Regions from separate parts of the Homo sapiens genome. Here regions 2, 3 and 4 are each linked to region 1. The links are contacts of gene promoters, found by promoter capture Hi-C in blood cells and fetal thymus (Javierre and others, 2016). All regions are on one chromosome and are shown on one strand. The core of a region is centred on a gene start or on the middle of the fragment in contact, and the rest is flanking DNA. Distances in the headings are between cores, read along the strand shown.

The links. The method cuts DNA at HindIII sites, captures the fragments that hold promoters and counts their contacts. A CHiCAGO score of 5 or more calls a contact.
Region 2: a fragment that was not itself captured here is called in contact with the fragment with the promoter of IGSF6 in region 1 in 1 of 17 cell types (M1 macrophages); the score reaches 6.3 in M1 macrophages.
Region 3: a fragment that was not itself captured here is called in contact with the fragment with the promoter of IGSF6 in region 1 in 3 of 17 cell types (neutrophils, M2 macrophages and M1 macrophages); the score reaches 8.1 in neutrophils.
Region 4: a fragment that was not itself captured here is called in contact with the fragment with the promoter of IGSF6 in region 1 in 1 of 17 cell types (total CD8 T cells); the score reaches 6.6 in total CD8 T cells.

The regions. Positions count from the first base shown.
Region 1 is chr16:21,647,655-21,654,031 of GRCh38, forward strand. IGSF6 (immunoglobulin superfamily member 6) reads right to left here and starts at 4,954. Exons shown (of 6, transcript NM_005849.4): 1 at 4,878-4,954. The coding sequence starts at 4,944. The region is part of intron 4 of METTL9 (methyltransferase 9, His-X-His N1(pi)-histidine); the gene reads left to right. The HindIII fragment of the contact is 3,735 bases long and covers 3,950-6,377 here.
Region 2 is chr16:21,979,431-21,985,775 of GRCh38, forward strand. UQCRC2 (ubiquinol-cytochrome c reductase core protein 2) reads left to right here. Exons shown (of 14, transcript NM_003366.4): 13 at 1,117-1,270; 14 at 3,658-4,230. The coding sequence ends at 3,741. It overlaps PDZD9 (PDZ domain containing 9), which reads right to left. Exons shown (of 4, transcript NM_001363519.1): 4 at 4,435-5,230. The coding sequence ends at 4,837. It also overlaps the pseudogene LOC100420644. Among named protein-coding and RNA genes, the nearest start is that of PDZD9, 19 kb to the right of the region's middle. The HindIII fragment of the contact is 1,716 bases long and covers 1,435-3,150 here.
Region 3 is chr16:21,961,966-21,968,423 of GRCh38, forward strand. UQCRC2 (ubiquinol-cytochrome c reductase core protein 2) reads left to right here. Exons shown (of 14, transcript NM_003366.4): 5 at 495-551; 6 at 796-920; 7 at 3,443-3,540. It also overlaps a transcript of PDZD9 not described here. Among named protein-coding and RNA genes, the nearest start is that of UQCRC2, 12 kb to the left of the region's middle. The HindIII fragment of the contact is 5,384 bases long and covers 444-5,827 here.
Region 4 is chr16:22,081,868-22,088,479 of GRCh38, forward strand. It overlaps MOSMO (modulator of smoothened), which reads left to right. Exons shown (of 3, transcript NM_001164579.2): 3 at 1-2,787. LOC105371129 (a long non-coding RNA gene) reads right to left here. Exons shown (of 4, transcript NR_188624.1): 3 at 5,231-5,384; 4 at 3,928-4,327. Among named protein-coding and RNA genes, the nearest start is that of VWA3A, 7.4 kb to the right of the region's middle. The HindIII fragment of the contact is 640 bases long and covers 2,169-2,808 here.

The DNA of each region.
Region 1 (6,377 bases), core at 3,704-6,203:
ACTCCTCCTGTTTTCTGACCTTGACCTGCTGGGTCACATGATGTCTGTTCACTGGAGGCCAGCCCTAGAGAGGCTTCAGGGGAACAGAGTCCCTGTGCAGGAGGCCTGCATAGAGGTGGCACCGTATTGGACTCAGAAGTTTGGGGTCCATCTGTGACTCTTGCTCCTTACAAGCTTTCCTTCGATCCAATCACTTAATCTCCTGCCTGCTTTCTTGTCCGCACCCTGGCCTCCCCAGAGTGCTGTGTTCAGTGTGGTAACCTGTGTCCCCAGACGAACGTTGCTGCCGCTGATGGAGCCTATGAGCAGCAGCGATGTTTGTGCTTTGTGGGAGTTGAGATCGCCAGGAATTCATGGCCATTCACAATTGTTTCTTTGTGAGCCTGGTGTCCCTTTGGGAAACATGATAAAAGGCAACATGTACACCTGTGGAAATGCAGCCCTGGCTTAGCCTACCATGTCTTTGATTACTGAGCAGGGACCATATGAGCTCGCCAGGCCATAGCTAAGCAGATTTGGTTTCTCCCTGGCGTGTGTGCTGCTTTGTAGGCCCTTGTAGCATTTATCTTATTTAATTAACAATATTGTGATAAAGAGCACAGACTTGAGTTCAAATCCTAGCTCTGCCTGTTCCCAGCATTATAATCTCAGTATCTCAGTTTCCTCATTAGAAAATGGGGATAGTATTGTTGACCTCATGCAGTTAGTGTGACGTTCAAGATGATGCCTAGGAAGTGTTTACCTGCCTAAGCTATAGTAAGTATTAAATACAAGGGAGCGATTGCTGCTGCAGCCGCCACTGCTACTGTTCCCACAGTGTCAGATGGCTGTTGGAGAGATGGTTGTGGACGTCTAGCCACAAGGTGTTCACAGAGCTGGGATTAGTCACCCACTCCAGTGTACTGTCCACCATGTGGTGCTCTTCCAAGTTATGAGGATTGAGTCCCCCACCTTGGCCTTTATATCCCAGGCATGTGAAGCTGGAAAGCCACTCGAGTGCACAAATGGAAAGACCCGCCCTAAACCCTTCTTTTGCGGCAGGGGAGGCCATAGGTAAAATAGTATTGGTTGAGACAAATTGGAATTTGTCAAGTTTTTGGTCTGAGTTCCGCCTGGTCATATATTCCCAAATGGTCCTATTTGTGTGAGTTTGTCCTTTGCTACTGTAAATGAAACTGAAAAGTCATCCAAGTGGTCTGATGCTTAATTTTCAGACAGGGGCTTTTTTCTCTTAGCGTTTCTCTTATGGATCCCCATTCATAACAGCAGAGGAATTAAAGTTAGAATCATGGCGTTTGTGATGCGAGTCTCTTCTCACCATGTTTTTTTGTTTTTGTTTTCATTTTTGTTATTGTTTTTGGACAGAGTCTCTGTCTCCCAGGCTGGAGTGCAATGGTGCAATCACGGCACACTGCAACTGTGACCTCCCAGGTTCAAGCCATCATCCTGCCTTAGCTTCTCAAAAGTAGCTGGGACTGTAGGCCTGCAGCACTGTGCCCAGCTAATTTTTGTATTTTTTGTAGAGACAGGGTTTCACCTTGTTACCTAGGCTGATCTTGCACCCCTAAACTCAAGCGACCCGCTTGCCTCGGCCTTCCAAAGTGCTGGGATTACAGGTGTGAGCCACTGCGCCTTGCTCTCTTCTCATCATGTTATATTTTAGTATTTGTGCAACATGAGATGAGCTGGGAGCTCTGTGGTGACCTGATAAATGCAAACCAGACAAGAGGGTGCAGTCACCTGGAGGAGGCCTGCAAGCTTCTCTGAGCTTCGTGTCTGTGGGAGGCCCAGCTCAGCTCCATCTCCAGCCAAGGGGATTGGATTCCCTCTCAAGTCTGAGAAATACAACCTCATGTCTCCTGCCCAGACTCAAGCACCTTACAAGTACAGTGAAACATTTTATAGTATATACTGAGTGGAAATTTAAAATGGAATTGGGTCTGCCAAAACTTAGCAAAGTTAAGCACTGTCTCAGTCTCAAGTCATCTTTCAGATAATGTTTTTATTTTTATTTGTAAAATTATTTTTAAAAAGTGGACGATTCCATTATTTACACATTTTTATTTTTGAGATAGGGTCCCACTGTGTCGCCCAAACTGGAATGCAGTGGTGTGATCTTGGCTAACTTACTGTAGCCTTTGTCTTCTGGGCTCAAGCAATCCTCTCACTGCAGCCTCTGGAGTAGCTGAGACTATAGGTGTGCACCACCACGCCTGGCTAATTTTTTTATTTTTAGTAGAGACAGGGTTTTGCGATGTTGGCCAGCCTGGTCTTAAACTCCTGGGCTCAAGCAATCCACTCGCCTCAGCCTTCCAAATTGGGTAGTGTTTTTAAAAGGGAAGCCAAAGAGCCAGGCGTGGTGGTGTGGCCATTAGTCACAGCTACTCAGGAGGCTGAGACCGGAGGCTGATTGAGCCCAGGAATTCCAGGCTGCAGTGAGCTGTGATGGCACCACTGCACTCCAGCCTGGGCAGCATTGTGAGTCCCTGTCTCTATTAAAGGAATAGAGTCTGGACGTGCACTCCAGCCTGGGCAGCATTGTGAGATCCTGTCTCTATAAAAGGAATAGAGGCTGGGCATGGTGGCTCACGCCTGTAATCCCAGCACTTTGGGATGCCGAGGCGGGCAGATCACCTGAGGTCAGGCGTTCGAGACTAGCCTGGCCAACATGGTAAAACCCCATCTTTACTAAAAATACAAAAAATTAGCCAGGTGTGGTGGTGGACGCCTGTAATCCCAGCTACTTGGGAGGCTGAAGCAGGAGAATCGCTTGAACGTAGGAGGTGGAGGTTGCAGTGAGCTGAGATTGTGCCACTGCACTCTAGCCTGGGTGACAGAGTGAGACTCTTGTCTCAAAAAAAAAAAAAAAAAAAATAGAGGTTGGGGTGGCGGGGATAGCTGACTTTCAACACTTTTCTTTAAAAACTAGTAGTATAGGATAAAAACAGGTATTTGTAACTTTGGAATTTCATATCTCTACTTATTTCCACCTTCTTCCCAATTAGGCTATGTGTGGGAGAAAACCAATTGTAATGATTTCCTCTGTGAGCAGGAACTTGTGATGAAACTGTGGTTCCCTCCCCCAACCAGTTAGGCAACCTATTAACAAAAAAGAGAAGTTTGGATATGTCACACCACAGCCTGCTTCTGTGAATGATTTCTTTTAAGAATCCTCATATTCTAGGAATTGTTTTTTAAACACAGTATCCAATGAAAAGGTTGAAGATTTATTTCCTCCATGGAGGGAATAGAAAGATTATTCTTATTATTTTAAAAAACCATATTGAGGCTGGGCATGGTGGCTCATGCCTGTAATCCCAGCATTATGGGAGGCCGAGGCGGGCGGATCACGAGGTCAGGAGATCGAGACCATCCTGGCTAACACGGTGAAACGCTGTCTCTACTAAAAATACAAAAAATTAGCCGGGTGTGGTGGCAGATGCCTGTAGTCCCAGCTACTCGGGAGGCTGAGGCAGGAGAATGGCGTGAACCCGGGAGGCGGAGCTTGCAGTGAGCCGAGATCTTGCCACTGCACTCCAGCCTGGGTGACAGAGCGAGACTCCGTCTCAAACAAACAAAAAAGCCATATTGAAAGTAGGAAGAGAACTAATTCTTGACATTTAAACAAAGCTGTCTCTCTATCTAGTAAGTAAGAAGTAAGTAAATGTCTTGCTCTGTTGCCCAGGCTGGAGTGCAGTGGCACAATCACAGCTCCCTATAGCCTGAAAGTCCTGGGCTCAAGTGATCCTCCTGCCTCAGCCTCCCAGGTGGGTGGGACTGCAGGTGCAGTGCAGGTGCCATCACGCCCAGCTATTTTTTTTTCTTGTGTAGAAATGGGGGTCTCATTATGTTGTTCATGCTGGTCTTGAACTCCTGAGCTCAAGTGATCCTCTCACCTTGGCCCCCAAAGTGCTGGGATTACAGGCATGAACCACCACGCCCAGCCCAAAGCTTTATTATATTAGATTTCAAATTTCTAACATATCAAAGTAGCGAAGTAGTACAGTCAACCCCCTGCCATCACATGGCTTCGACCCAATCTTGTTTCTTTTCTCCTCCCACCTACTCCCTCACTCCCATATTATTTTAGAGCAAATCCCAGCCATTTTATCTGCATCTTTCAGAATATATCTCTAAAAGACAGGAATTCTTCTTTAAAATAATGCTAATTAAAATAGTCTATGAAAGTAATATATACTTATTAGCAAAAAACAGGTTATTAAAAGTAGAAGCAAAAAGTCACCCATAGTCCTTTTGCCTGAAATAACTCCCATTAACATTTTGATATATTTCTTCACAGATGAGAAAAAATTAAGAACTTTCCCCCCTTCCCTGCCCTATAATCCAAATTGTGTGGGCAAATCTGAGATTACTAGATGTATTGGAAATCCTTTCTCTTTCATAGATAAAAAAACAGAAGTAGACAGAATTTTAAAAATAGATATACTATGGGATGGCTATTGGAGTCATGGCAGTTTTTTTTTTCTTAAATGAAAAGTACTTTTATAGAAATTGTTCTTTGAAAATATTCAGCAAATAATCATTTATTGCTTTCTATGTGCAGATCAAGTTTGTATGATAATTAAATTATTGATAACTTATACCTACGATTTTAAGAATATTTTCAACCCTTTGGTCAGATTGTCTCCAATTAGCATAATAGCAAAGAGACTTTTCAAGGTTAATATGAAACTTTTTCTCAGCTATTTTTTTATTGTCTATTTCTCAGGGGAAAAAGGAAACTTATCCTCTTAGGCAGTTTTCATAATGTTATACATTTAAAAATTAATCTGAAGGAGCTTAAAATATAAATGCATTAGGTGAAAAATAGCAGTTGATTTAAATAAAATGAAGGAGGAGAAGAAAAAGAACCTTACCGACACAAAATAGAATGAGATTGGTTTGCAGATGGCGAGCGATGTTGCTTCTGCTCGCAGTCCCCATTTCTGTGTATGCCGGGGCGGGTTGGGGTGTGTATTTGAAAGGAAAGTTGGCTTTCTTTTTTCAGAAGGGAAGAAGAGCTGAAGAGAGGAACCTCTTATGAAGGAACCATAATCAGGAACTTTTTGAAATTGTGCAAGGATGGCTTCACCATTTAACATTGAGATTTTGGCCTGGAGCACATTTAGAAATGTGCATATCTTTTTTTTTTCCATGGATTTTACAGTTGTCATAGGTGTTAGATGTTTCTGGGTGAGATTTTGATTTACACCTAGCACATATTTCCAGGAAGGAGTATTGTTTGACAAATAATTCGTACTTGGATTTTTCAGAACAGTTCAGTCACTGTCTAGGGTACCTGCTCTGGGTGCCACTCTGGGCCAGTAACTGCTGGGAACAAAGAACAGCAGAAGGAGAAGTGGCTTTGTGTAGAGATGAGAAAAGTTAGTAAACAACACATTCTAATGCAGCGAATAAATAAATTGTCTGTTATTAACTTTTTGTACTCCAGTTTTGAATCCAAAGACACCTGCCTTCCCCCCTTTTTTGACAGGGTCTCTATCACCCAGGCTGGAATGCAGTGGCAAGATTGCAGGTCATTGCAGCCTCAGCTTCCTGAGTAGCTGGGACTACAGGCATGCACCACCACCCCTGGCTAATTTTTTTTTTTTTTTGTAGATTCTGTGTTGTCTAGGCTAGTCCTGCCCTCAAGCGATCCCCCTGCCTTGGCCTCCCAAAGTGTTAGGATTACAGGTGTGAGCCACCATGCCTGGCCCAAAGACCCCCTTTTAATGTGTTGAGAAACAAATATGTGGGCCCTCTGTCCTCTGTGTCCTCTCCCCCAGCACTTAGTGGTGATTCAGTAAGGGTCTTCTTTGTAAAGCAGCAGAAACAGACTCAGGCTGACTTAAAAGGAAATTTATGCAAACATTTGAAGGTAGATCCTAGAGTCACTGGGAGGGCTAGTGAATCTTGTGTGGGGTCCACAGCCAGGAAGAATGCCTCAAATCACACCATAAACAGGTCTGAAGAGGATGCTACTGCCACTGCCAAACACTAGGTGCCATCAGCCCTGTTGTCAGCATCGCTCAACCACTGCCCCAGCCCCTTGGTCTCACTGCCATTGCTCCACCCCCAGAGAAGGAGAAGCTCACATCCCCACTACTCTGGGTCACTGGCTCTCCATTCCAGGGCATGGGCAAGTGTGCCTGGCTTAGGCTGCGTGCCAGTGCCTCAGCTGCACGGCAGGCCAGGAAAGCGGCTCCCAGGCCTTGTGTCTCTCCCAGACTCTGGGCAGGCAATTCCCCAGACATGGGAAGAGCGTCATCTGCACCACTGAAAATTATGAAAAATCTCCCCACCATGATATGATGTCTGTGCCCTTGGCATCTGCTCATGATATATTTTCTCATTAACAGAAAGTTATTCTCAGTCTG
Region 2 (6,345 bases), core at 1,043-3,542, 330 kb after region 1:
GACAAATCTAGATGGTATAGCCTACTACACACATGGGCTCTATGGTATAGTCTATTGCTCTTAGGCTACAAACCTGTATAGCATGTACTATAGTACTGAATACTGTAGGCAGTTATAACACAAAGGTAAGTATTTGTGCATCTAAACATAGGAAAGGTACAGTAAAAATACAGCACAAAAGATAAAAAAATGGTATGCCATTTTTATGGCATAGCTCCTGCTTTCGAGTGAGTCAGTGAGTGAGTGGTGAGTAAATGGGAAGGGCTGGGACATTACTGTGCACTGCTGTAGATACTAAACACTGTAAACATAGGCTACGCTAAATTTATTTTTTTAAAATTGCACTACAACATTATGTTGTCAGTAAGTAATAGGAATCTTTCAGCTCCCTAATAATCTTAACGGGACCACCATCATATATGTGGTCCATCATTGACCAAAAACATCATTATGTAGTACATGACTATACCTTGAATTTCGATCTTTTCCTAGGCTAGTGATATGCAGTACATGAGATAATCAATGCTTCCTTACAAAATGGGCTTATGTTAGAAGACTTTTGCCCAGCTGCAGGCTATTGTAAGTGTTCTGAGCACATATGAGATAACCTGGGCCAAGCTATGATGTTCGATACGTTAGGTGTATTAAATGCACTTTTGACTGCCATCTCAGTGGATGACAGCCTTCTCACTGACAGCAGAGAGATCTTCCTCACTGTGCCAGTGGGCAGGAGAAAGAGCATGCTGCGACTGGCCAGTGACATGCAGAGGATCCAGATTGCACAACCGGATCCAGAGGCCTTGGGAAGCATTAGGGAGCTCTCCAGCTGTCTCACTCAAATCTGTAGCAGCATATGGACCCACAAATGGAGGCCAAAGTGGGCCCTCAATTGGACACTTTGGCAACCCTGAAGAGACTTCTTCCCTTCAGACTTACTGTTTTAGTATGTTCCAGAGAAGGGAGTGGCATTCTTCTTGGGGAATTCAGGAAGAGGGAGACACGCTGTTACTCTATCCATTAAATAAAGCTTTGATGTTCACAGCCCCCCGCCACCACTCAGAAAAAAAAAATAATTGCCTTGCTCTCTAAAACTGACTTCTGCCTTTTATTGGACAGGAACAAGCTGAAAGCTGGATACCTAATGTCAGTGGAGTCTTCTGAGTGTTTCCTGGAAGAAGTCGGGTCCCAGGCTCTAGTTGCTGGTTCTTACATGCCACCATCCACAGTCCTTCAGCAGATTGATTCAGTGGCTAATGCTGATATCATAAATGTAAGTAAATGAAAACTTAACGATTTAACAACAGAGAACTTAACCTTAATGATCCAATTTCAGAAGGATGCATAAGCGTCCTTGGGCAGTGTATTATTCTTATGTTTGGTGCTCATCTACTTAATGTGGAGGCAGGAGGGCTCATTCCCATAAGATCCGCAACAAGCTTCCCTGTCAGCTCGAGTATATGTATCTTCCTCCTTCAAATAAACTACCATTAGGTTAAACTGTGATGTCAGTAAGAGGGCTGCCATCCACTGAGATGGCAGTCAAAAGTGCATTTAATACACCTAACGTATCAAACGTTAGGTTAAACTAATGGTAGTTTATAAAATGGGCTTATGTTAGATGACTAGAAGTAAAGAAGAGTCAAATATTAGCAGTTTCATATGATCCAACCTAAATAGTGAAGTTTGCTATTTTTCCTCTTCAGTCCTAGCAATATTTCACCATCTAGCATCTTAAGATTTTCTTTACTCTTCTCAGCCTAGGACATTCTCTTGTTCTTGCTAATTTTTTTTTCACATATATTATTGTTCCCTACAATATTGAGCTGTTTTGAGGGCAAGGACTATGTCATGTACTTCTTTGTGTTCCCTGCTGTGCCTAACAAGCACATGACCTACAGAATTAATCCAAAGTAAGTGGGTTTTCCCCATTTTCTACATTAAACTTGCCAACTTGCTTTCTACTGTAGATGTCTCGGCCATCTTCTCACCAACAGGTCTACCTTGTATAGGGACAGTGGGGATAAGAAAAAATAAAAAACTAAGCTGGGTGCAGTGGCTCATTCCTGTAATCCCAGCACTTTGGAAGGCTGAGGTGGGCAGATTGCTTGAGCCCAGGAGTTCAATACCAGACTGGGCAATGTAGCAAAACCCCATCTCTACAAAAAAGTACAAAAATTAGCTAGGCTTGGTGGCATGCGCCTGTAGTCCCAGCTACTCAGGAGCTCATGGGGCTGAGGTGGGAAGGTGGCTTGAGCCTGGGAGGCAGAGGTTGCAGCGAGCCGAGATCATGCCACTGTACTCCAGGCTGGGCAACAGAGTGAGACCCTGTCTCAAATAAAAAAGAGACAAGGCTATTTTAAGATAGTAACCCTGACTTGATTTCACTTCGCCCCAATCGTCATTTCATACTCTTCTTTTTTTTTTTTTTGAGACGGAGTCTTGCTCTGTTGCCCAGGCTGGAGTGCAGTGGCGCGATCTCGGCTCAGTACAACCTCCGCCTCCCGGGTTCACGCCATTTTCCTGCCTCAGCCTTCCTAGTAACTGGGACTACAGGTGCCCACCACCACGGCCGGCTAATTTTTTGTATTTTTAGTAGAGACGGGGTTTTACCATGTTAGCCAGGATGGTCTCGATCTCCTGACCTCGTGATCCACCCGCCTCAGCCTTCCAAAGTGCTGGGATTACAGGTGTGAATCAACGCGCCCAGCCCATTTGGTACTCTTTTAAATGGCTGTCTTCATCTTATATCCTATCATTATGTGCGTCCCAACCCGACTGCTTCCACCACCACCTCTCCTTCATAGTAATAAGATAAGCTGGCCTGACAGAATATGGGGGCTGCTGCTCCACCTACACCTGACTCATGATACTACACTTAACCAGCCTTTGAACTTGGAAGTAGTGGCATAAAGAATCCTCTAGGGTATCAAGTTTTACTTTTAAGTTAACAATCAATGTATTTTTATTGACCCAGACTATTTGCCATTGTAATACCGAAACAGGAAAGTATATCCCTGCCTGAAGCCACACTACTCTATTTGACAGTGTCAGTGTTGTTTTCCTTATCTCTCTTTGAACAGCTACCCTCTTACCAGTGTTGCTCTTGCTTGGTTCATTACACATACAATGGGACTTTCAGAGAAACAGCTAAGCTTTTCCTCCCACACTGTCCCAAATTAAAGCACCAGCCATCTCCTAGTTAATTTTCACAACAGCTATTATAGTAATTGCTGGCTTAGAATGTCCTATCGAAGGCCAGGTTGGTGGCTCACGCCTGTAATCCCAGCACTTTGGGAGGTTAAGGTGAGTGGATCACTTGAGGCTAGGAGTTTGAGACCAGCCTGGCCAACATGGCGAAATCCCGTCTCTACTAAAAATACAAAAATTAGCTGGGCATAGTGATACATGCCTGTAATCCCAGCTCCTTGGGAGGGTGAGGCAGAGAATTGCTTGAACCTGGGAGGCGGAGGCTGCAGTGAGCCAAGATCGCAGCACTGCACTCCACACTGGGTGACAGAGCGAGACTCCACCTCAAAAAAAAAAAAAAAAAAAAGAATGTCCTATCCATAAATTCTTGAAATGACAAAATAAGTTCGCCTGCTTGATGATATATATTTTTATTTTTGTTAATTTTGTCTTTTGTTTGTTTCTTTAAAGGCGGCAAAGAAGTTTGTTTCTGGCCAGAAGTCAATGGCAGCAAGTGGAAATTTGGGACATACACCTTTTGTTGATGAGTTGTAATACTGATGCACACATTACAGGAGAGAGCTGAACGTTCTCTCAGCCCAGAGCAGCAAACACATGAAAGTCAGAAGTCTCTAATATATCATTTGTCTTTTTTCCAGTGAGGTAAAATAAGGCATAAATGCAGGTAATTATTCCCAGCTGACCTAAAGTCAATAAAACATTCTGTTTAAGTGTTTTTCTTACGTTTTTCTCAATGAGTTAATCAACAAGTATTTATTATGTGCTGATATCTTTGTTTTAGATGCTTTAAAGGAGACAGGAATATAATTATTGAGTATAGAAGCATCAGAAACTATTAAAATTAAGGCTAAGTGGCTATCGGGGTAAATAGTGCCAGATTACTATTGGTGGCGTTTAAGATGAAAGCAAGTTCAAAATTTGTCATTTTGGGTGTCAACAGCTAAATGGTCTGGTTTTTACCCCTGTTTTGCCTTTTTTGCAATAAAATTATTTCCAAAAAACATACATTTCCTATCAATCATATCCTATATTCCCATTCATTCATTTTTTTATGTCTGATTTATCTTCATTGACAGAGTTTTGTTTTTCTCTCATCTCCTGTCTCTCCCTTATCTGTTACTATCCTGTCTCTTCCAAATAATTAACTCTCAATTCAACATTTACAGTAAAAGAAGGGCTAAAAAGGGGAAAAAAAAAGAATTCTAATGTGAATAACTAGCCAAAGAATTATGTCTCTTAGTTATTTTAATTATAGTACTTGAAGTTTACCAAAAAAAAGAGAGAAACTAAATATTTAAAGAAAAATGTAGTGTTTACATAAAGTGACATTCTCTACTATGTTCAGACATTCTGATATTGGATTTCTCTACGGCATTTTCTAAAAGAAAGAAATTCTTCTCAAAAAGGAGGGTCTTATTCTGAAAATAAGATTTGTGAGGCCTGCAAGAACCCAAGGAAGTCTTTAGATAATCCTGTTGAAGAACATCTCTAAAGGCTTTATAACGCAGTCATAAGAGAAGAGAATTGGTGAGTCTACAGACAGTCCTTGATAAGTACAGCAAACTTGTGCCTGGTGAGGCACAAAACTTGGGTGTCTGCAAGATAAATGCTCATATGACCACAGATTTGCTAACCAACCTTTGATACCAGTTGGGCTTTACCCTCTTCAACTTGGGCACAATCTTCCAGCCAAAATGCATCTGAGGTAGAGGAGGTAGAGGAGGAAGAGCTTTCATTGTCTTGCTTCACCATTATCCAGTATGGAGAAGGGGCCCTCACTTCTTTCTTGTCGTCTCTGTGAATCATCACGTCACAATTAATGTCTTTTCCTACACTAATAGTATGGTTCTTCTTCTTATATCCATGCCAGTCTCTGGAGATGGATATTGGTCTCCTTGCAGGGTGATGCACAGTTGACCACGGATATCTATAATATTGAAGTCTTTTATCTAAATCTACATTTTCATTATCATCACTGCTTGTGAAAGATTCATCTTTTGCCAGCTCAATTTTCTTTGGTGTGCTGAAATGAAAAGAATAGTGAATAAAATAGATTCTTCATGTCTAAACATTTATGGTCCCCTAACAAGATGCCTTATAACTTGCTTTGACTCATAAAAGATACAATTTAGCTTTAGCATTACCTTTCTGTGTCATTGAAATGTTTCTCTTTTTTAAATCGTCTTGAAATCTTTTTCCATTTCTAAATGGAAATCAAATTCTGCCTTAAATTACTTCACCATACCTTAAAAAGTTTTGCACAGACTTATACTAGACTACTGACCAGAATATTAGGAGGTGTTAAAGGGTAGGTTAATTTCACTGCAGCTAAAGTGACGGATTCAACCTGGCCATCTCCTGAGAACTCTATTCTTGTGGCTCACGTGGCATTAACACAACATTACTGATTTCCAGAGGAGTCAGGAAGTCAGGAAATAGTGGGCCTTAAGGATCTTCAACATCCTAGTCATTAGTAAGTCTTAGAGTCTTTTTTTTAGAGAGGGTCTTGCTCTGTCACCCTTGCTGGAGTGCAGTGGTACAATCATAGCTCACTGCAACCTTGAATTCCTGGGCTCAAGTGACCCTCTGGCCTCTGCTTCCAAAGTAGTTGAGACTACAGGTGTGTATGCTGTATGCCACCGCACCTGGCTAATTTTTATTTATTTTTATTTATTTATTTATTTTTAAAACAGGATCTCCCTATGTTGCCCATGCCTGTCTCAAACTCCTGGCCTCAAGCAATCTTTACTTTGGCCTCCAAAGTGCTAGGATTACAGGCATGAGCCACTGTGCCCAGCCAGGTTTTTGTTGTTGTTGTTGTTGTTGTTTTTAACTTTCTCCAATTATTGACTTTCTTGATTGTTGAAACTAGGTGGTGCTTGCCTGCTAGCACCTCCAGGTCTCTGAACTTTCCTAATGCCTACAGTACCTGTGCTTGCTTTAACTTTCCAGAATGAATGCTCTGTCACCTGCTTTCCCTCATCCTGGTGCTATTGCCCAGCAGAACCAAAACTAGATCTTTGTGATTACAAATCTCTGGTACATTCTGCCCTGCTAAAAGGAAATAGGTTTCTTCCCTGCCAACCTGTTAAGACTTCTGGTGTTATCACTAATAACCTTGGCAGTCTGCCTGTTGTA
Region 3 (6,458 bases), core at 1,886-4,385, 310 kb after region 1:
TTCTTAAGTGTGCAGTTAAGTGGCATTCAGCAACCATCACCAACATTCAGCTCCGGAACTTTTCTATCTTCTCCCACCTGAAATTCTGTACCTGTTAAACAATGGCTGCTCATTCTCCCCTCCCCTCAGCCTTTGGCAACTGCCATTCTCTTTTCAGTCTCTACAAATTTGACTACTCCAGGTACCTCATAAGTAGAATCATACAATATTTGTCCCTTTGTGACTGGCTTATTATCCTTAGCATAATGTCCTCAGGGTTCATCTGTGTTGTAACATGTGACCAGATTTCACTCCTTTTAAGGTTGAATTATTTGCTGGTTTTTAAAAAAATTTTGAATTTTAGTTGGTTAATATGTGGAGTTTTGTTATATTATTGTTCGCACCTTTTATACTTCAGAAATTTTCTTTCCAAAGGAATTGGTTGATAGAAGATTATAAGGGAAAGCTTACTATCCTGATTCAGATGATTTACTCTAGTTTATTTTCCGATTCAGTGTGACCGCAACAAGGGAAAACATGGCTTATACTGTGGAATGCCTGCGGGGTGATGTGTAAGTACCTGTGTGTGTTTAGGACTTCTGCTTTGAAAGAAATACTAAGCTGCTCACTTCTGGTCTTTGTAATGCGTCATTATGACCTCTGACTTCCATTTTGGATTATTGTTCATAAACTGCTCAAAAACACTGCTTACCACAAGACCTAAAGTTTCACATTGAGAGCATTACAGCTATGTAGAATCTCAAATGTTGGCTTTACATTTTTGACTCATAATTCTTATCTCGATGTCTTCTGTAGTGATATTCTAATGGAGTTCCTGCTCAATGTCACCACAGCACCAGAATTTCGTCGTTGGGAAGTAGCTGACCTTCAGCCTCAGCTAAAGATTGACAAAGCTGTGGCCTTTCAGAATCCGCAGACTCGTAAGTACATTTCCAGATCACATTTGATTCTAAGATACTGGGTTTTTTAGAAGATCAATTTATAGAAGAAAAAAAATTGCTGTCAAAATTTTTATTTTTATTTTTATTTATTTATTGTTTTGAGACAGAGTCTCACTCTGTCACCCAGGCTGGAGTGCAGTGGCACGATCTTGGCTCACTGCAACCTCCAGCTCCCGGGTTCAAGCAATTCTCCTGCCTCAGCCTCCTGAGCAGCTGGAATTATAGGTGTGCACCACCACACCTGGCTAATTTTTTGTATTTTTAGTAGAAACAGGGTTTTGCCATGTTGGTCAGACTGGAGTTCAGTCTTGAATTCCTGGCCTCAAGTGATCCACCCACCTCAGCCTCCCAAAGTGCTGGTGTTACAGGTGTGAGCCACCATGCCTGGCCAAATGTTTTACTCCTTGAATTTGAAAATATCTTTTTCAAAAATTTGTTATTTAGATTTATTATTCTTTTGTTTCTAAACATTTATAATCATTTTTCATGTTTGATGGTAAGTAAATTGTTTGTAAGATCCTAGAAGTTTTTCCTGTTTCCTTCCCAATGTTTTGTTTTTGTTTGTTTGTTTGTTTGTTTTTGAGACAGGGTGTTGCTTGTTGCCCAGGCTGGAGTGCAGTGGCACAATCTCACTGCAGCCTGAACCTTCTGGACTCAGGTGATCCTCCTACCTCAGCCTCCTGAGTAGCTGGGACTACAGGCACACACCACCGCACCCTGCTAATTTTTATTTTTATTTTTTTATAGAGATGAGGTCTCACTCTATTGCCCAGGCTGGTCTCGAACTCCTGGGCTGAAGTGATCCTCCCACCTCAGCTTCCCAAAGTGCTGGGATTACAGGCGTGAGCCACTGTGCCTGACCCCTAGTGATTTTTAAGAGTTGTTTTGCTTACCCCAAATCCTACACCAGTTTATTGCTGCTGCTATTATTGCTTACTATTGTATTGCTATTATTGTTTAGCCATCTCCTCTTTATTGAGTCTTTCCAAAGTAAGTAACTTAATTTTTTTAATAGGAATCTTTTTTGCATTCATATTTTATGTTTATATAATGTCTAATTATATAATCTTGACAAGTACAACTGGTAATACAAGTCTGTAAGCAAGCGCCGCTGACTCTTGGGAGTCATACAACTTCTGGTGGGAGCAGAAATGTGCAGGAAGAGCAGAAATAGCTCAACTCAGTGGTTCAGCATGGGACAGGCTCCCCTCCACATGCAGGCCTGGGGACTGATGTTATTTCATGATGATGCTTGGTGTCACAGAGGAGCATTATCTTTGTTGCTCAGGATTTCTACTGAAGAAATAGATAGAATAGTACAATTTTAGAAAAGATGACCTATGTGTCCAGAGTGGCTTCTTCCCCACTGGCGGCAGTGAGGCACCAGCCTGCATCTATTCTGCCTGAACAGTTACTGTGTAGTCTCCTGGCTGGTGTCAGCCTCCAGGTTTACGTCTTGAGTCCATCTCCCACACGGCCATTACAGTGATCCTTCTGACGTGAAAGTAAGCCTTCTTATTATCTATGGGATAAAGTCCAAACAGCATATACGTATATGGCCTTGCGTGATCTTACCCCAGCCCACTTCTCTTACTTTATGCTCTACCCTCTTCTCCTTCCAGCTGCAATTCCCATTTGAATCAAATTATTGTTATACTTTATGCCTTTGTTTTGTCTGCTTCCTGTGCCTAAAATGCTGTTCCCAAATGATTTCCCCTGGGAAACACCAGCTCATTCTGTAAGATGGATCCCACATATTACTTGTATTAATTGTTTTCCAATTCCCACTGCCCTTGCCTTGTACCTCTACTGCACTTTTGACACACTGCCGACATTGCACCCATAATACTTTATTTCACAGTTTTTCCTCTTAAAATTTGAGGGCAGGCATTGTATGTTCCACATCTCTGTATTTCTAGCACCTAGCACAGTGCCTCGCATAGGCAAGTTGCCAGGTAATGAGCAACTGAAGGAAATACTGCAGGCAAAAAGGCATTGAAGCAAGAAAGCAGGGAAAGCACCAAGCACCACAGAGGAGTAAGTCCCAGTGGAAGCTCCCATTGGTCCCCTGAAAGCTACCTGACAATCTCCTTATTACCTAGAGAGGAAACCTAGGAGTAAGTAAAATTCAGATTAAATGACTTGTCCAAGGTCACATGGCAAGATGGCGGCAGAACCATAACTAGATGGGGACTTCCCAAAACCCAGGCCAGTATACCTTCCAAGTGATACCAGCTAGGTTAAAGTTAGAAAAGTGGTTTAGGTGGACTCCAGTATATAGAAGCTGCTGCCATGTAATCTTTTTTATTTTTTTCTCAGCACATTCTACTGGCAGAAACTGGCAGTTACTAGAGGTTAAATAATAATAAATTTTAAGTCCTCTTAACATATGAATGCCAGAAGATGACCAAATTTGTATAGGCTTGTTGCTTTCTAGGTTTTAAAAATGTTGTCTTTACTGAAAGTGCATTTCCCTAAATGCTTCTTCACTTATCTCACAGATGTCATTGAAAATTTGCATGCAGCAGCTTACCGGAATGCCTTGGCTAATCCCTTGTATTGTCCTGACTATAGGATTGGAAAAGTGACATCAGAGGAGGTACCAATAAAACATATTTTGAAATGTGCTTGTTTTTCACATTAAATTGAACATCTCCCATTTCAGGTTTGTTTGTTAATTTTTCCTTTTATCTTCTAACTTTAAGAAATTCAGCGTGCTAGCTTTTTCATCCACCTGCTTTTTAACTAAAATTTTATCTGAACAATTTTTGTGTCTCCTTTAAGAAATGTTTTCATGACTAAAGGGACATGATCATTACAGAAAAATTAAAAAGTAAAATCAAACAAAATGAAGGGAAAGAAAACATCTCACATACCTAAAGGCACTCAGTGTTAATACCTGGTATATTTTCTTCTAAACCGTTTTCTGTGTGTATGTATCTTTTTTGTTTGTTTGTTTTAAATACGGGGTCTTGCTGTGTTGCCTAGGCTGGTCTTGAACTCTTAAGCTCAAGCAGTCCTTCTGCCTATGCCTCTCAAAGTGCTGGGATTACAGGCATGAGCCATTGCACCCAGCCTGTGTATCTTTTTTAAACAGTATTTAAATGTTTAAGTATCATAATAGGGGCTGGGCCCAGTGGCTCATGCGTGTAATCTCAGCACTTTGGGAGGCCAAGACAGAGGGATCACTTGAGGCCAGGAGTTCAAGACCAGCCTGGGCAACATAGCAAGACCCTGTCTCTACAAAAAAAAAATATATATATATGTGTGTGTGTATACATATATATAAAATAGGTCCTTTGACTAAAACTCTTTGGTCTCTCTGAATTTGTAAATAAGACTTGAGCCCACTTCCTTAGCTCCTGTTCCATCCTCGCTCACTCATTCACGTTCTTCAGCACACCAGCCTCCGTTTGCTGGCTATAGGGGTTTGTCACATGCCACAGCCATATGTGCATCTTAGAACTTTGTTTCCAAAACATGAAACATTGAATGCTAAATCTACAAGTGTAGATATGTGCGTATAATCTTAATTTCCTATTCCTACCACCCAGACCCAAAAACAAATTTTATCAAAAGACATTAAGAGAAAAATTTGTAATTATCAACACCTTCAAAGTATATCTGACTCAAAAATTCAAGGTTTTTATTCTCGTTTTATTCTTAGTTAGCTGTTACAGAAAACTAAACTGTATCCCTTGCTCTTTTTGACTTATCAATTAACAGTTTGATGCCTTTCATTCATATGGCACTTTTATTTAGAAATTTTAACTTACATCATCCAACTTGAACAGGCAGCCGTTTTCATAAGACTGGACTCTAATGAGTTTTGAAATTTTTCAGAAATCAAATTCACCCTCATGAAGATGTGTCATTAAGTTAGCTAAAACTTAGCAAAAGTTTATCTACAAGGATGGCTATTGTAATACTAGTTTATAATTGTGAAAAATTAGAAACAAGTTAATATCCAGCATTAGGGAACTAGTTAAATAACTTATAGAATGGAACAGTATTCAACCATTCAAAAATATTAGTTGATACATAAAACTCCACAGCATGTTGTCACATAAAGCAATTTATGGATTAGGACATACCAAAAGGTCCCTTTTTTTTAATAAAAGGTATGTATGTATGCATTATAGACAAATATCAAGATGTTAACTGTGATAACTTGGTTATCTCAAAGTTAATAGTATTTTTTAAATGTGTCCCTAGGCTAAAGGAAACTCTAAAGAAATTGGCGCTAGAATACTTGGAGCAATGGCAGCATCAATAGAAAAACATCAATAGAAAAAGAGTATGACTTTCCAAGGTTACTCCATAGGTACAGACACCATTCATTTTAGGGCACGGATTATGATAAATTGATTAAAAGTTCAGTTTCATTACTTTAGCCCAGTGATTCTCAAAACGTTATCACTTTCCTTCCTGAGGAGCCTTTCTAGCCATTTTTTTCTAAACCTCTTACTTTTAATACCACAGATAGAGTTTATGTGCTGTATATTTGTACTTTTTACATAGAAGTCGTAAGTTTTTTTTTTTTCTTAGTTACCCCAAACCAATTTTCACCCATCTGGAAAGGATAGCATTTCTGTTGAAAGTACATGTTTTAGCCCTACTTTTGTATATTAAGCCTAAGGTGGTAATATAAACCAGTGATAACCAAGTCTCACCAATCTTCAGATCGCCTGAGTGGTTGATTGGATGGATGGGTAGTTGGTCGGTTTTAAATAAGGATTCTAGGATTCCACATTTAATATTTTATATCAGTCTGTAGGGTAAGTCCCAAGAATGGGGGACAGTGACCGTTTTTGTTTTTCAAGCTGAGTAATTGTGATCTTACAGTTTCGACACCCTGGTATAGACAATGACTTCATGGTCAGAAAAGCTTTATAGAGATTGGCTTCAAAGATGGACGAGAAGGGTGTTGTGGTAAAACTCTGTTAGCCCTGTTATAGAATGTTAATAGTGCTTCATTACTACTTATATAAACACAAAAGAAACCTGACATACTACGTAAGCTACATTATAATAAAAATCATAGTCCACGTTTTCAAGTTTAGGCCAGTGTATGCTCTAATTTCTTTTTATTCCTTTTTTTTTTTTTTTTTTTGAGACAGAGTCTTGCTGTGTCGCCCAGGCCAGAGTGCAATGACACGATCTCAGCTCACTGCAACCTCTGCCTCCTGGATTCAAACAATTCTCGTGCCTCAGCCACCCATGTAGCTGGGATTACAGGCGTGCACCACCATGCCTGGCTAATTTTTGCATTTTTAGTAGAGTCAGGATTTCGCTGTGTTGCCCAGGCTGGTCTCAAACTCGTGGCCTCAAATGATCCGCCAGCCTTGGCCTCCCAGAGTGCTGGGATTACAGACATGAGCTACTGCACCCAGCCTCTTTTTATTCCTTTTATAAATAACAGCTTTGTTGAGATGTAATTCACCATACTATACAACCTATTTAAAGTGTACACAATTCAGTGGTTTTCATTATATTCACAGAGTTGTGCAACCATGA
Region 4 (6,612 bases), core at 1,239-3,738, 430 kb after region 1:
TCTAGGTGCGATTTTAAGTTAAGCTAAAAATTATTTGTAGGGTTAATTTATTTGTATATGATAGTAGAAGGTAAGATCATGTCAAACCTTATAATTTGGGGAATCTGACACTATTTAAATTATTGGCAACTGTTGTCTGTTGTACAGAGATTCTTTTTCTACTGGCTCAGTCTGTTACATTAATAATGCATTTTATATGTTCAGGCACACTTTACATAAATACAAAGTTCGCTAGTAAATATCTGGCTATTTTGGCTATTTACAACACTAATTTCATTATTTTTATCTGTAAGCATTATTAATACATCTTTACCAAAACCTGAGCAATACAATATTTTCTTTATATGTTATATGCCTTTGTTTGCTAAAAGCTAATATTTTTGCATTTACTTTAAAGGGCTGTACTAAACCCACAGCTTTAAGTTCTTCCCTAAAAGAAGCATTGCAGCTAACCCTTGAACTCACAGTTTTAAAATACAGTATTTCTCTTCTCCACATCTCCATGCCTTCGCATCAATGCTTGTTTTTCCTGGTGAACACTATAGATAATCTCCTGTTTGAAATGTGGGACAGGGTGTTTCATGGCAGTGGAGCTAAGTTTCTCCTCTTTATAGTGAACTGGTGACCCAAATGTCCCTGTCATTTATAGTGAACTGATGACCCAAATGACTCCCTGTCAGTAGAGTCCCATGTGGCCCATGCTTCACACAAGCAGAAATGAACGCACTGTTTTTAAGGCTAGATTATCAGTTCTAGAATGATTACTTCAAAGATGGGAGCTACCTCCTCAGATATTCACACTATGAAATGGAGGTGCTTGATGTGTTTCACACTGGCTTGTTTGACAGTCTTCTATCTTACTGTTAATTCAGCAGTATTTTATTGTGAAAGAAAACCCCAGTGTTTGAGCTCACTCAGGAATTGGGGAGAGAGATGGACCACCACTGTGGTGCATTTCTTAAGTGTTCTGGGAGAATGTCATACTTTTCCTTCCCAGAGTAAAAGAAACCTTTGGGAGATCCTGAGGGAGACTGTTTCTCCCCAAGTATGATGATGTCTAGTCAAGTCTAAGAATACCACTGGACATGTTCTATGGACATTTGGGATTGCAGTTGCTATTCTGATTTGATTGGTCCTCAGTCAAATGGATCACTTTGAAGGAAAGCTTTGGTTGTCACCGTTATATACCACTGAGATAAAGTGTTAGCAAAGTATGGTTCAAATTAACTTATGACATGACCAAGAGCTTTTCTCTTCCAAAAGATGAATTGTATTGTAAATAGTTTCTCAAAATATTTTTAACTGGATCATGAGCATGGGGAGAGAAAGTTTCTCAGCTGCTAAGAATTTCCCCACTGTTTACTTCTTTCACTTATGGTGGTATTGCATTTAAGATTACAAAATTTAAGGTTTTATTTGTATCTATTACCCAAACCATTAAATTGTCTTTAATTTCATTGTTGTCTTGGAGGTCCAGTGCATACAGGGCTGATGGGGGAAAACTCCCTCTAGCCAGTCAGCACTCTAACCCAGGATTAAACCATCCCATCAAGTAGTATGTGAAGTCAAGTCTTCGTACTCTTGCAGACCAGACATTGAAATGGATTCATTCATATAGATTTCTATAAATCCTATAAGTGAAAAGATAGACAACTGTCCGCAGTTGCTTTTAAAAAAGGTCACTATAATAAGTACTATATAGTACAGTATTAATTTATAGCAGGAAATCGTATCTTGTAAACTGTATATAAAACACTGTTTTATGGTGCAATCATTTGTCAAACTTTTGTCTGTTTCATTGTTTTTAGAGTGTGTGCATTCTTCTCATACCTAAGAATATCACTGTAAAATCTGCTGAAAACTATTTTTAGGTTTTATTTGCACAAGACTGAATTAGTTTGACATTTTTGGAAGCTCCTATTGAACATACCCAAACATCTGTAAACATGAAAAATCTTCAATTTATTAAAAGCAAACATTTCAGTATGATTCTTTCCAAAGGTAATCCATGTTCTATGTTGTTAATGTGTGTATGTAATTTTTCTGACTCTTCCACCTCTTATAAACCTATTTTCTGTTTCATTTGTTTTGTTTTTGAAGGATGGCTCTTTTTTCTTTTTAATGTTCTAGATGACCAAAACACTATTGGTTTTTACCCTTTTGCCTAAAGCTTTGATATCCCCACTTGATGTTCTGTGAATTCACTGTTTAATCTATTAAGTGAAATAATAAATAGTCCTGGTGACAAACAATCTGTTGATTTAGAGGAAAGGCCCTGAAAAATACAGTATTGGAAACTAACTTTGCATATGCTGTTAGCTATTATTTTGCATCATGGGCTTCATGGGAAGAACATGTTGCATTTATTTTGTCTTTATTAAAAGACTACTAGCCACAAGTTACTCTGATTATAGTAACTGTTTTATCAACCCACTTCATCTTTAAAAAATTAAATTTACATTCACAATTCAAAACAGTAAGCTGTCTTTCAGAAAATTTTTGAAGGATAAAAACATGAAGGAAAAAAGTGGCCCGTGTAGGTAGGATTCCCTACACAGGACTTTTAGTTGTATCACCTCAAGAGATTTTGAAGTTTGTGATCAAGGTCTGTATATTATCCCAAACTTTATTAAGAATTGTTTTCTAATTGGTTATAACATTTTTCAATTAATAGTTTCAAAACAAATTGTTAATACAACTGTATAAAATGAACATAATTTTCCTCACTTGTATTTTTGTTATTGAGCAAGTTTATCAAAATAAATTGTCTACTAAAGAAACTAAAAAGGCTTCTATTACTTTGAAATAAGCTTCATTTAAAAAATTGATTTCTTATGGAGGTTTCACATATTCACAAGTGCCACTTCCATGCCTCTTGGGTTGGTTTTTTGTTGTTGGCATTGGGGGGTGAGGGCGGTCTTTCCCTATCTTCTTCCACTCCCACTCTTTGCTCACCGCTAGAGAAGAGATGCCATTAATATTCCAGGACGTGGATTAGGCCATGATTACCCAAGAGTCACTCAGCAATAAAAGACCACATACATGTGGCTTTCCCTTCTGCGTCATGCTTCCATGAGCTAGGAGAGAGAAACCAAGCCAAAGCCCTCAAGCCAACTATCTTTCTATTCTTTCTTCCTTGCACATAGACCCAAGTCCATCTTTGCTTCAGTCTTCTGTTTCTACTTTACTCCAGGCCAAAAGATCTTAGCTTTTAAAATCTTAAAGTATGGGCTGGAGGAGCAAATACAGAGGCCTTTAGGCCCTGTCACAGCTTAACTATAGCTCTCTCTGGGGGTGTCAAGATTAGCCCAACCGAATAATAATAATAAAATATTTACAGTTTGCTGCTGATTCTTCCTTGTGTGGCCTTTTGAGGAGCCTCCTGGGGAATTGGAGGATTAAGACATGGTAAGATTTAGATGTTCTTGGGTTCTAAGATTAAGGGGTTTCCTTGGAGGTGAGACTTGAAGTACTATGTCTGGGAAAGTTCCAGGCAAACTAGGATAAGTTGGTCACCCTACCCTATCTTCACATCATCTAAATCTTCTCCTGATTTGTAACACAGATTAGAGGTTTTTGGGGGGTTATTTTCTATAAACATTAATGAATAGGTCAATTGGAAATTGTAATGGTAGATTTATGCTGAGCTGCTATGGTGGAGGGGACACTTTTTCTATTTGGTAATACCTTAGGAAAAGGTAACACAGTGGCTTTGAAAACAACATGGGTTCAAAAATACTTTATTTTGACTTATTCTTCTATCATCTCTATTCTAGCCACTATGAGAAGATTATAGGAAAAACACCAAGACTAGAGGACTCTGGGTTCCTTTTATGCAAAGTCAACTCTTCTGGGTCACAGTTACCCAGCAACAAAAATAAAGGTAGTTATTTATAAATGGTATTAAAGATAGAAAGCACAATGTATATTTTTTAAGAGTTTTGGTTCTTTTCCCAGGAGAAGAAAACACTGTGGGTTGGTATTTTCAAGCACATTCAAGGGTTTTACAAATCAGCCCCAGTTCCAGTCACACACAATCTAAGACCACCCAAGATAACATTTCAAGAAGAGATTTTTCACAAGACTATAAAATTTCAGTGCTGGATGAAATGTCAAAGAGCATGTCCAGTGTTTTCACTTTCCAGGTGAGGAAATCGAGGCCTCAGACTTTTCCAAAGTCACTCAACTAGATATCAGCAGAGCACTCGTCTTTGACATGTGGGCCTTGGACTTAAGACCAACATTCATATTCTCTAGCCATTGAACCAGTCTTCCTTCAACTGGTCTCCATTCACTCTGATCCATCCAAATCAATTCTGCCAAGATACTCATAACACAAAAGAAAGCATATTATTTCCATGTTCACATTTCTGTCATTCCCATTGTCTACAGAATGAAATCCAAACTCCTTTAGCATAGCTTTGACAAGCTTTCGTGATCTGGCTTCAAGCTCTCTGTTCAGTCATTTCCCACCTCTCTCTCTCGTCACTTCTTACTGACAACCAGCCTGTTCTCCATTCTAGATTCACTACAACCTGCTCCCTGCCCCGGTTGTGTCTGTACCACCTCCTCTCAGTTTTAAAGTCCTCCCATATTTGAAATATATCTAATCTTTTGTGCTTTGTGTCTCTTTTTCTTATGCTTCTGTAACAGAACTTGCTAAACAGGCATAGACTGCCTGGATTAAATCTCAATTCCACCATTCCAGTTGTGTGACCCTTAGTAAATCATGTAACTTACGTGAGCCTTGGTTTTTTCATCTGTAGAATGGGACTAATAATATTACCCACTTAATGGGGCTATTGTTGGTTTAAAGGAGATAAAGTTCCAAGCACATAGTAAGCATTCAAATGTTAGTTGCTGATATTGTCATTAGTAAGTGCTTTTGTATAACTATATAAACTCTTGAATGCAAAGAGTATGGCTTCCTCATTGTGTACTCACTAGAAACCTGGCACAGTGCTTTACACACTGAATTATGAAAATTAAAGTTGGGGCTAGGTGATAAAGAAAAATTATGAAACCATATTTCCTGGAGATTTGAAAGACAGAGTCATCAATCTGCCAGGTTTGTTTCAGTGAACTTCCTCCTGAAGGCAGAGGCTTGCCTAAATCAGCCTTTATAAGGATGGTTACTTTATTAATAAGTATTTGGCTATATAATATATCAGTTCCATTGATCTCCTTAGAATTTCCCCATGGACTCCAGATCCTTTACTACTGAACTCACAGGGCTGTAACACTGTTACTGTACAGAGAGGACCAGGACGATGCCAGCACCCCGTTTATCCTGAGTGAACTCTCCGGAGGCCTCTTCAAGCTTGTGGGTTCTCTGCTGTCTTGAAGCCATCCATCCATTTGATAGGTTTTGCAAAGACTTGGTCCTGCCAAGATGGTTTTAATCATTTCTGCTAAAAGGAATGGACTCGAGGATTTGATCTCATTTTAGATGCAGTTGTCCTCACTTGGCCATTTTACAGCACTTTAGTAAATATGGCCAGTGTATTTGGTCACTATTAAATCAATCCCCATTCATTATCTGTCAGGGCAACTCAGTGAACTAAATACTATGTTCTGACCTCTGGCACTCTTTCTCATGTTGTTTAAATATTTAATATTGTCTAAGGCAATTCAAGTATTTTCTTAAATAAAAAATATGAAAACTCACTCTTTTCCATTCCTTTGTTTTCTATGACAAATGCAAAGAAGTTGAAGAACCAAAATCCTTTCCATTTTCCATAATAAATTGCTCTTTAAAAACTGACATATCTAAGAAGGCTTTTGACTACCTCATCTTCTAAATGTTTTACTAAGATAGGTAGTAAGCAGCAAAATGAACTTATTTGGTGCAGTCCCACCCTTACATGCACCACTCCAATACTTTACCTAATTTCTGCCTTCAGGGTTATCAGTAACTTTTTCCTGCCTTATGTGCTATTGTGGAGAAAGAAATTATGACCTTGAGCCGGGACACAAATTTTCTTTTTACAATAACATGTATCTGTAGATTTTTTTAAAAAACACAAAAATAATATAGGAAACAAAAAGTTCCCTCCTCCACAATCCACCTTCCAGAGATAACCATTGTTAACAGTTTATTGGGTATTTTAACAGACATTTTACTGATCAGTTTAACAAAAGCAAGATATTATCTATACCTGCCACTGCTTTTTTTTTTTGAGACAGGGTCTTGCTCTGTCACCCAGACTGGAGTAAGTGCAATGGCACAATCCTCAGCCTCAAATTCCTGGGCTCAAGCGATTCACCCACCTCAGCCTCCCAAGTAGCTGGGACTACAGGTGCATGCCACCACGGCCTGCTAATTAAAAAAAAAATTTTTTTTTATAGAGATGGGGGTCTCAGTATGTTGACCAGGGTCGTCTCCCAGTCTCCTCCTGCCTTGGCCTCCCAAAGTGCTGGGAGCCACCATGCATGCCCTGTGGCTTTCTTTTTTGACTTAATTTGTGATGTAGATTTTTCTGTGTCAGTAAATATAGAGCTTCCTCATTTTAAATGCATAGTATTCCATTTGATACATATCAAATATGTGTCTTCCCATTTTGATGTACATGAGGTTGCTTCCAGATTTTTGTTATTGCAGATAATGCTGCT